Linked DNA regions of Homo sapiens: all the other regions are linked to region 3. The links are contacts of gene promoters, found by promoter capture Hi-C in blood cells and fetal thymus (Javierre and others, 2016). All regions are on one chromosome and are shown on one strand. The core of a region is centred on a gene start or on the middle of the fragment in contact, and the rest is flanking DNA. Distances in the headings are between cores, read along the strand shown. Region 1 holds the start of RARG (retinoic acid receptor gamma). Region 2 holds the start of ITGB7 (integrin subunit beta 7). Region 3 holds the start of MYG1 (MYG1 exonuclease).

Region 1 (3,388 bases), core at 80-2,579, 67 kb before region 3:
TGTATGTCTGTCTATATGGGATACCCAAGCTCCAGGCTCCCTGCACACACTACCCCCACTCCCCTGTCTTCTCTCTACTTGCCTCAAGGATATGAGATGCTGGCTATGGTCCTTGACCCCAACTCAGCATCTGACCCTAAGGGCAGAAGCCTCAGACTTGAGGATTGGGATTCCAGCTGCCCAGGACCAGAGCCCTAAAGCGGGACAGTCATCTCAGTTTCTTGCCCTGAAGACCTCCTACTCAGGCTCCCCTGCCCCCACCACCACTAACAACCAAGCATCTTCTTACCCGCTGGCCGCCTGCAGAGACTGGCTTCTACATACTGGGTCAGGTTGAGGGAACTGGGCCGTAGCTGCTAAAGACAGAGAGGCAGCGTCAGTGGAACTCTGGGACCAGCACTCCTGGGTCCCTGTCCCGGTCTTCCTGCTCTTTCTTTGTTCCATTTGGGCTTCCCTCAAGAATACTCCAGAGGTGCCCCCCACCTTGGCTGGAGGGAGCCAAGGCTCGCACCTGGGCTGGGAACGTGTGGGAGGGAATCCAGCGCTTCAAGGAAAGTTCACAGATCCCTATCCTATGCACCAGTCCTTCGGAACTCCTGGACGCGGAGGGCCAGGCTCACTTGCCTCTGGACGTTTTCCTTGCCTTCTGATGTCCAAGCTGTCCCATTCCACTGGGGAGGGAGGAACTTGGACCAGCATGGAACATCAAATCTACCCCTCAGAGCCCGGGGGTAAGGGGGTGGTAGTCTTTCCCCGCGAGAGGAAACCCTGTCTTCTCTCACATTCCCAGCACAAAAATATAAGGAGGAATGCCCCCTGGCTGAAGACTTCCCCAAATGCTGTCCTCTGCTATGCACCAAAATGAAGGGCAGATGACCCAGCCCATCCTCAGCCTGTTAAAATCTTCCCCATTCCCTTCCCACAGCAGGACTGGCCTGGGTCGGGGCAAGAAGCCCCCCTCAAGCCCGGCGGCCAGCCTGGCCAGCCTCGGGAGGGCATTCGCCCGTGCAGCTCCTCCGCGCCCCCTCCCCCAGCCGCCTCGCCGGAGGACCCAGGCGACGGGGCGGGCGAGCCTGCTTCCCCGCCTGACTCACCTGGAGTGGGAGGGGGAAGGGAGGCGGCGGAGCCCCGAGGTCCCGGCGTCGGGCAGTCTCTTGGATGGAGCGTCGCAATGTCCGGGGCTCGCCGTACTGGGGGGCTCCTGGGGGGGCACGGCTCTAGGCTGGGACTGTCCCGGGGCCTCTCGGAGCCCGCCCGCCCACGTGACCGCCCCAAAATATCCGACACATTTTCTCCCAAACCGCACACTGACTCTGCAGGCGGGGACACGGAAAATATTTTCTTTCTTTTTCTCCCTCCCCACCCCCCCCCCAACCTCCCTCCCTGCCCAACTCCCTCCTCCCCCTCCCGCCCTCGCTCCTCCCTCCCCTGCCTGCCCCTGCCCGGCTCCCTCCTCTGTGCCCTGGGGCTGGGGGGCGGAGGGATGGGTGGGCGGGAGGGGGACTGGGCGGGGCGGCCCGGGACGCCTGGGTCTCTGCCCTTCCCATTTGCTAGGCTTCCGTGACTCCATCCTCTGGGAGGCCGGGCACGGCTGGCAGAGGAGGTCAGTGTCCTGGCCCCGTGATGCCAACCTTTTCTCTCTGGCACTTTTCTCCTTTCTGCCTTTTGGGGGGACTAGTTGAGTTGTCTGTGGCCAGGCTGTGACTCTTGCGAGGCCAGTCTCTGGCGCCTCCCCAGGGTAGGCAATGGGGCGGTACCCACTCCCTCCCAGTGCTGGATTGGCCGGGCAGGAGTATGCCAGATCTAGAATAGATGCTCCTGCCCTTACTCTTTGCTCAGCCTTCACCTGCAGATCCAAGTAGCCTCTCCCTTCCCCTAGCCCACCTCAGTCCTTTGGTCCCAGGAGCAAACTGGTTGACTAGTGGCTGTTGCTGGGGGTGCTGAGGCCAGGGCTCACAGACATCTTCCCTGTCATCTTGCCTGGAGTAAGCTCCAGGAGTTAGGGCGCCTGGGTCCCTGGCTGCCAGTTGTCCCCCACCTTTAGGCCTGGATTTGGAAGGGGAGAGGCTGGAGAGGAGGGCAGGAGGAACTGTGGCTGGGAGTGGGAGGAGCCTTGGGCTGGGTGTGAGAGAGAAAGCCCAGGCAGAGGGTGTGTGTCTGCCCTAGCCAGCACCGGCCTGCCTGCCTGCCTGCCTGGTAGATGTGCCATGAATGCTGTTGACTCCGGGTGTGTGTGTGTGTGCGTGTGTGTGTGTGTGTGTCTGTGCAAGCGCGTGCGCATGCCAGTGCCGAGAGTGAGTGTCTGTGTCTGATGGGGGCATTATCTGCTTCAACATAGACAGACTCTCAACCCTAGAGTGAGAGAACCCAGTGGTTTCACTCTGCATTCTACTGAGGACAGAGGGAGAGAAAAGAATGGGTCTGCAGTCCAAGCTCTGTGCACGGATCCCAAACACTCCCATGGGGACTGGAGTTGGGAGGGAGAAAGAGGAGAAGGGGAGAGTCTGAGCTAGGCTGATAGGCTGGACAGACATACCCAAAGTACCTTCCCCAGCAATGCTCGCAGGGTGACCAGGACCTGGGACACAGACTCCTGGGTCACGTCACATTTTCCATACTGGAATTACTTGGCTTTGTCCTTGCTCCCCCCTGGGGGCCAGGTGTCCTCCCTCCTGGGAAAGGCTGCTTTTGGTAGCCAAAGTCAGGTGAAGGAGATGGGGGAAAGAAGAGGCATGCTGTGGTTACCTCAGGGAATGGGAGATGGCAATGGGGGTGCAGACAAGCCCTCTCTTTCACTCCAGGGATAGGAAGAGCTAGGAATAGATACTCCAGGGTCCCGTCCCCAGGTGGCCTAGCTGCTGTTGACTTTGCTTGGTTACCCTGGGAGCAGCTCTCAGCAGTGTGGGAGGGGCGGGTGTCAGGGAGTTGGACCCAGGCGTCCAGGCTGGGGTGGGATGGCGCCCCGCCTGTGTGGCAGGGCTCCTGCCAAGAGGCTGCAAAGTTAACCCCTCCTGCCCTGCCCTAGTGGTGGCTGGTGGGAGGAGGGCGGGCCCAGTTGTGGTTTGGGAATGTGGCCCTAATTTCCCCCTCCCCCTTCCAGCACATCTGTACTTGGTTTACAGTGAATGAGCCTCCTGTCCTCATGAACCAGGCAAGGGCACCACTCCCTCCTTGGCCAGGCATTCTGACACAGAACCAGGCACCACCCGTGACACTCTCCTCTCCCTGCTGAGTATCATCTCTCTGAACTCTTCCCTTCTCCTTCTGTAGAGGGGCTTAGGGTTGGTCCCAAAGATCTACAGCTGGAGCTCTGAGACAGTGCATCTAGGTAGCAAATGGGGCCAGGGAAGCCTAAATCGGGGGACAAAACACTTGGGGTAGCCTCTGA
Region 2 (3,549 bases), core at 557-3,056, 92 kb before region 3:
TCCCAAATTGCCGTGATTACAGGCGTGAGCCATCACCCCCAGCCAAATGTCATGTATTTATCATTTCACACGTCTGCAACTGAATCTGTAGGATAAATCCCTAGCAGAGGACGTGCAGGATAACTAGATAGGTATCATTTGTAATACTGGTGTGTATTTCATCTACATTCTCATGCTAAGAAATATATATATATAGGTGGGTATTGCCAACATAAACTCTTCAGGACTTGTACTGGTCCACATTCCCATCAGCAATGTATGAGAAAGGCCAACTAACTCCTTGTCATAAACCATTTGCATCTTCTTCAGCCTGGGCCCAGAGTCAGGTCCAGATACTCTGCACAGAGTGTGGGAAAGGGGTGGGGTGTTGAGTCCTTGAATGTCCTGGTCCTGCTCCCCACCACCTGTGACCTCAGGCGCCATATATAACGGAGCCTCCACCCCTCGGGGAGAGGCCAGTCCCAGCTCAGCCTCAGCGTAACCTCAGCCCTGCTTGCTCTGCATGCCTGTGGTCAGGGAGGCTGGAGATGCTGCAACCCAAAGCCGGGTTTTGACTCATCTCTCACAAGTGGAGCCCCGGCTGCCGCATAGGTTTTTCAGAGACCTTAGGCCCACTCATCTCCCCTTAAAGGGGGCCCTGGGACTTCCTGGACAGCCCTTTCCTACCTTTCTTTCCAATTATCCTCTCTTCTCCCCTCCTTGAGAATACATGTTCTGCCACCTATTTCTCTGTCTGCTTCTCTGTCTCTCTCTGGCTCCTTTCATTTCAAAACTTCTATTGCATCTCTCTGCTGCTTTTCTCTGCTCCACTTCTTCATAGGGCTATTTTACTTCCTTTTCCCCTCTGTTCCTAACTATAGAATGGCTGAATCTACTACTCCATCCCACTCTTTTTACAAATGGAAACCTAAATTCCATGAGGCCAGGGTCACCCAGTGAACTAGGGGCAGGGCAGGACAGGGCAGGGCCAGGCCTCTGCTGTGCTTTCTCCTTTCCTCCCTCCAACCCAGGCACTATCTCCATCAAAAGTTGTGTTCTCTCCCCACTAGCCCTGGTGGGCTCTGCCTAATCCCATTTCTCTTTCCTTAGGGGTATTCTGCAGTCTTCCCTTCTCTCTCTGGGACCAAGTGGTTATTTCCATTTTTCTGGACTCCATTCTGACTCCAGTACACACCCTGTGACCCCCCTCAGCAGCTGAGAAACAGAGCCTCTTCCAAACCCATCCCTACCTTCCAAATCAAGCAGAACCCTCTGCTGCCCACTGGGAGTCACAAGGAGGGGACGGAACTGAGCTGCTGGGCCTCAGTGTCCCAGGACAGTGGAGTCTGTGACCAAGGTGCCGATTAGGAAGAAGTCTGAGCTGAAGGCAGAGCATTAGGGATAGCAGCTGGGGGTGATGTTGGAAGAACCCTCCCTCAGTATAATCGGTATACCTGCCCTACTTCGGTATAGTCCTTGGCACATGGCAGGCACTCAGATGACAGCACTCATATACATCCCTGCCTCCAGACCCACTCATGGGAAACTGATGCAGGAGAGATTGGGCTTTTGGAGAGGTGGAGGTGGGGGTACTGTGAAACTGGAGGAGGGAACCAGGTCAGGGGATCTTAGGAATGCAGAAAGGAGTTCAGAGCCTTTCTCAAGTCTGGACAGGACCCTCGGTATCCAGGTCAGAGCCCTCTTCCCAAGAGGTTGGGACCAGGTGGGCCAGAGCTTGTAAGGAGAGGAGGCAGAAGGGCTGGTGCCCTGGTACTCACAGGTGCGTGCAGAGCAGTCCTTCCTCTGGCGGCAGCAGCAGCCTTTGTGTACTGATCTGGGAGACGGCAGAGGAGGAAGTGACACTCCCCAGGGTGGGGAAGATTTGGGGTTGGTGGGGGTGACTGATCTAGAAGGTGGTGCAGATAGGGGTGGGGCTGAGCCAAGGGAGTGGACAATACAGAGATCTGGAAGAAAGAAGCCCATTTATTGAACCCCTGTCATGTGTTGAACGTAACATATTACAATTAACCCTCACAACAATCTCATAAGATAGGGGTTAATATTCCCCCAAGCCCCAATTTTACAGATGCAGAGATTGAGGCTTGGAAGCAGGAAATAAAGAATTTTGCCCAAGGTCCCACAGCTAGTAAGTAGCTAGTCTAGGATTTAAAAAAAAAAAAGAAAAAAGATTTTTATTTTAAATTTTTATTATTTTATTTTTTTTATTTTAATTTAATTTAACTTTTGAGACAGGGTCTTGCTCTGTTTCCCAGGCACAATCTCAGCTCACTGTCCCATGGCACAATCTCAGCTCACTGCAAACTCCGCCTCCCAGGTTCAAGCGATTCTCCTGCCTCAGCCTCCCGAATAGCTGGGATTACAGGGGTGCACTACCATGCCCAGCAACGTTTTATATTCTTAATAGAGACGGGGTTTCACCATGTTGGCCAGGCTGGTCTCAAACTCTTGACCTCAATTGATCTGCCCACCTCGGCCTCCCAAAGTGCTGGGATTACAGGTGTGGGCCACCATGCCCAGCCTGTTTTTTATTTTTGAGACAGGGTCTTGCTGTGTTGCCCAGGCTGGTCTGTAACTCCTGGACTCAAGCAATCCTCCCACTTTGGCCTCCTGAGTAGCTGGGATTACAGGCACACTCGGCTGGTCTGGGATTTAAATCCAGGTCTGCCTGCCTCCAAAATTCATGATCTCTCCATTTACTTATATAGGAAGGAACATGATAGGAGGGAATAGGGGCAGTAAGTACTGTAGAGAGGCCAGAAATTACAGACTTGTTCATTTTGAAAACCCAGGATACATTATATAAGTGTGCTTGACTACATAGGCTCTGGAGCCAAGTTGCTAGAGTTCAAATCCTGGCTCTACTACTTACTAGTAGTAAGGAGCTTAGCTGAGTTACTTAAACCTGCCTGCAGCTGTTTTCTCATCTGTCCAGCAAGACTCACAGGATTGTCGTGAGAATTAAAAGAGATAATTCATATCAATTGCCTACAAGACTACCTGGCACATACTAAGTAAGGGCTTGATAAGAGAATTAGTAGGGATGAGAAGTAGCAGAGGTGAGAAGTGAAGAGGCTTTGAGAAATTCAAGGTCCACACAACTGGAAACTTGGAAGAGAGAGGCATAGGGCCAGGCTCAGAGCATGTGATTGGGGAACCAGGAGCCAACACAGTAGTGGATCCTGGGAAAGGGGTGGAGGAGGTGAACTGGGAGAAGCAGAGAGTGCAGGAACAACAGCTGAAGCCAAGGCAAGGATGAAGCCCGTAGGGAGAGCAGGAAAATATTAATGGGATTTGCTCCTGGCCCATACAGATCACTAAGAGCTTTGAGAGGGAACTAGACATGAGGTCTGTGTTCACAGGTCGATCTCCCCTACCAGAAGGAGCACTCCTTGTAGGCAGGGACTGGCTCTACAAGGCTTCCCTGCTGGAGCCACCACACCTAGCCAAGTGCCCATCTTATAGTAGGTGCTCAATAAATGTCAGATGGATTGCAGAGGTGTAGCTGCTAGGAGGGGACAATTGGAGAGGAGGGGCTCTTTCTCTGGGTGG
Region 3 (3,744 bases), core at 334-2,833:
TCCAACCAGCTCTTCAGGAGAAGCACGCCATGAAACAGGGTAAGTTTTTCCTGGGGCACCTCTTGACCCTATCTCCATAATAAGGAACATGGATTGCAGTGTGAACCACGGGGGTGTCCCCTTTGCTGGAGTAAAACTATGTCTTAGTTTCTCTTTGGCATCTTTAGAATCTGTGTATTGCATAATCACTATCTGTAGATTCCTGGGTTGAGCGTTTGAGAAATTTAGAGGAAGGAAATCATGTTTGTGCTTTGGTGGAGCTCCTATTTAATGACGATGGAATGGGGGAATGAGATGAACACACAGGAAGGAATCATGATCCAAACGAACTAAATACCAGCAATTATAACCCCGACTGCACATGAGAATCACTCAGGAAGTTTAAAAAGAAAGCTTGGGCCCATTCCAGATTGACTAAATCAACTTGGAAGTCAAAGGAGGGGAAGTTGTACCAAGGTCTGTTTTTTTTTAAAAAAGCTCCCCTCTGTTATAATCAGGATTCAGAACCAGTGTTCCAAAGGTAAAAATCTTTCCCCATCATAGTTTTCTGATTATGTCAGACTCATTTAATACCATATTGTGTTCGTTTTTATATCTTTGGTTAGCAGGTTTTTTTTTTTTCCGAGAAGAGTCTCATTCTCACCACACCCAGCTGTGTTAGCATATTGACCGATGCATTGTAGACCCTAAATTTGTGTTAGTGACCCCACAGTGGATCACTGAGTTAAAGTTTTATTAACAATGCCAGGCGCAGTGGCTGACGCCTGTAATCCCAGCACTTTGGGAGGCCAAGGCAGGTGGATCACCTGAGGTTAGGAGTTCAAGACCAGCCTGGCCACCATGGTGAAACCCCATCTCTACTAAAAATACAAAGTTAGCCCGGGCATGGTGGTGCATGCCTGTAATCCCAGCTGTTCGGGAGGATGAGGCAGGAGAATCGCTTGAACCCGGGAGACGGAGGTTGCTGTGAGCCAAGATCGTGCCACTGCACTCCAGCCTCGGTGACAAGAGCAGGATTCTGTCTCAAAAAAAAAAAAAAAAGGTTATTAACAAACTGTAGTTAGTCGGTCGCCTGTCCTTAAACTTGCCTGTCACTTCTCCTTAACTCTAGGTTCTCCTTTTTGCTTCTAACCTTTGACTCTTATTTTTTTCCACAGCCGTCATGGAAATGATGAGTCAGAAGATTCAGCAGCTCACAGCCCTGGGGGCAGCTCAGGCTACTGCTAAGGCCTGAGAGTTTTTGCAGAAATGGGGCAGAGGGACACCCTTTGGGCGTGGCTTCCTGGTGATGGGAAGGGTCTTGTGTTTTAATGCCAATAAATGTGCCAGCTGGGCAGAATGTTGGTCTTTTCTTGGATTAAGCAAGGGACTGGTGATGAGATGGGGGGTGTGGTCGAGAGTGTGGGCCCCGTCTCAGAGCCTGATGCGCAGGGGTGATGCGATGCGCCTCTTGGAGGCTCCATCGCAGGGCCCTTTGACCAGCTGGAAGAAATCCTAGGCTGGGAGTCTGCTGCTGCTCACTCTGCAGAGCTGGTTGCCAAGGGAACGGTTGGCAAGCGGAAGTGGGGCTGCGCTGGCGCTTCCTCTTCCGGGTCGGCGCTCCTGCCTCCCTGCAGGGAGCTGCTTATGGGACACCAATTCCTGCGCGGCCTCTTAACGCTGCTGCTGCCGCCGCCACCCCTGTATACCCGGCACCGCATGCTCGGTCCAGAGTCCGTCCCGCCCCCAAAACGATCCCGCAGCAAACTCATGGCACCGCCCCGAATCGGGACGCACAATGGCACCTTCCACTGCGACGAGGCACTGGCATGCGCACTGCTTCGCCTCCTGCCGGAGTACCGGGTACGGTCCGCGAAAAGTGACCCTGGGACTGCGTGCATGCATGCCTCCGGGGTGGATGGCATTCCGCCAACAGGGTCACTCCGATAGCGCCCGGCAGCCCAAGCACCCTTCCTACCCTTCCTGCCTCCCTGAAGTCCAGCATTAATCCCCTACCCGGCGACACCCGGCAGCCCCTTCACCCCTGTGTACCTCGCAGGATGCAGAGATTGTGCGGACCCGGGATCCCGAAAAACTCGCTTCCTGTGACATCGTGGTGGACGTGGGGGGCGAGTACGACCCTCGGAGACACCGATATGACCATCACCAGAGGTAGGTTCTCAGATACCATTTATTTAACTTCCTTGACCTCAGCTTTCCTCTGTGCTCCAATTCAGCCATCCACTGCCGTAGTCCGCGTCAGCGAAAAGAACTGCTTCATCACTGAAATCAAACTCCCACTAGGACTACATCATCCTTCCGGCCCTGCCTGTTCTTCACCCATCTCCCTGGCCTGGGACCTCCTTTGGTTCCCAGGGAGTCCCTCAGGCCCCTTATCTCATCTCCTTCCTTAGCCAAGGCTTTTTTTCCATCAGCAACTTCATCACCCCAACTAAATAAACCCATCTGTGATTAATCCATTCTGGTGCCCTTGCTGCTGCACCTAACTGCTGGGCCCACATGATTGTGGCAGTTGGTGACAGTTCAGATGTGTGAAGTTTTCTACTTCATTTACACCCTTCCAAAGGGAAATCCTTCTTGCTCAAGGGTAGCCCATTCCAATCCTTTTCTTCTCCCTCAAGCCTCTACCGCATCAAACTGAGTGTCCCTGCCTCTTTTCAAAAGAAGTTGAGCATTTCCTCAGTCTCCCACCTCAAACATCCTCAGCTCCCTCCTACCAACTAAGGGAAATTTCTTCCCTTCTATTGGAGGTTAATCCTCTGTCCTGTTTCCAGTCTATTACTTTCTTCTCTGGGATTCTTTTTTCTTTTCTTTTTTTTTTTTTTTGAGACGGAGTCTCCCACTGTCGCCCAAGCTGGAGTGTAGTGGCACGATCTCGGCTCACTGCAACCTCTGTCTCCCAGGTTCAAGCGATTCTCCTGTCTCAGCCTCCCGAGTAGCTGGGACTACAGGCACCCACCACCACACCCGGCTAATTTTTGTATTTTTAGTAGAGACGGGTTTCACCATATTGGCCAGAGTGGTCTCGAACTCCTGGCCTTGTGATCTGCCCCGCCTTGGCCTCCCAAAGTGCTGGGATTACAGGTGTGAGCCACTGTTGGCCTATCCTCTGGGATTTCATGTCACAGTTCCACTAGTGTCTCTGCCTCTCCTTCCCTACAGCCTAAAACCCTTCTCAAGTATCTTCCATCTTGAAAAGAAACACAGGTGTAAAAACAAAACCCTCCCTCAATTATACCACACCACGAGAAGTAATTATCTTGGAGAGAGGGATTATGATGTTTTAAGTCTCTCTCCTTTTTTCTTTTTTTAGCATACATATTATAAATGATGTCAGGAAGAAACCCTCCCAATATTTACAGCCTAAGCTCTCACCCTTGCTTCTCAGCCACCCTTCAAAAAACAGCTGACCGTGGCTTCACCTGTTCCTTTCCAGTTCATTCCCCTCAAGCCCACTCTCCCAGTGTCTTCTCTGGAACTGCTCGGCAGAAGGGCACCAGTTACCTCAGCACCAAACCAGGGAGCTGGTAAAGGGTCTCAACTGATCTCTTTAGCACTTGGCATTATTGACCACTTCCTTTTATCAAATTGTTTTTAAGATGGAGTCTCGTCTGTCACCCAGGCTGGAGTGCAGTGATGTGATCTCGACTCACTGCAACCTCCGTCTGCTGGGTTCAAGTGATTCTCCTGCCTCAGCCTCCCAAGTAGCTGAGACTACAGGCGCCCAGCTAATTTTTGTATTTT

Evidence for each region. Contacts are between HindIII fragments. The CHiCAGO score rates a contact against its expected background, and 5 or more counts as called.
Region 1: a contact is called between the fragment with the promoter of RARG here and the fragment with the promoter of MYG1 in region 3, in 1 of 17 cell types (endothelial precursors). The highest score is 5.2, in endothelial precursors.
Region 2: a contact is called between the fragment with the promoter of ITGB7 here and the fragment with the promoter of MYG1 in region 3, in 7 of 17 cell types (activated CD4 T cells, endothelial precursors, M2 macrophages and 4 more). The highest score is 7.8, in activated CD4 T cells.

The regions. Positions count from the first base shown.
Region 1 is chr12:53,230,880-53,234,267 of GRCh38, forward strand. RARG (retinoic acid receptor gamma) reads right to left here and starts at 1,330. Exons shown (of 10, transcript NM_000966.6): 1 at 1,095-1,330; 2 at 290-356. RefSeq lists silencers at 1,016-1,145, 1,466-1,515. The HindIII fragment of the contact is 21,807 bases long and covers 1-3,388 here.
Region 2 is chr12:53,205,445-53,208,993 of GRCh38, forward strand. ITGB7 (integrin subunit beta 7) reads right to left here and starts at 1,807. Exons shown (of 16, transcript NM_000889.3): 1 at 1,758-1,807. The HindIII fragment of the contact is 16,923 bases long and covers 1-3,549 here.
Region 3 is chr12:53,298,112-53,301,855 of GRCh38, forward strand. It overlaps MYG1 (MYG1 exonuclease), which reads left to right and starts at 1,584. Exons shown (of 7, transcript NM_021640.4): 1 at 1,584-1,842; 2 at 2,039-2,151. The coding sequence starts at 1,627. PFDN5 (prefoldin subunit 5) reads left to right here. Exons shown (of 6, transcript NM_002624.4): 5 at 1-39; 6 at 1,158-1,339. The coding sequence ends at 1,234. RefSeq lists enhancers at 556-1,755, 1,259-1,348, 1,389-1,488, 1,394-1,688, 1,499-1,558 and 1 more. The HindIII fragment of the contact is 10,124 bases long and covers 392-3,744 here.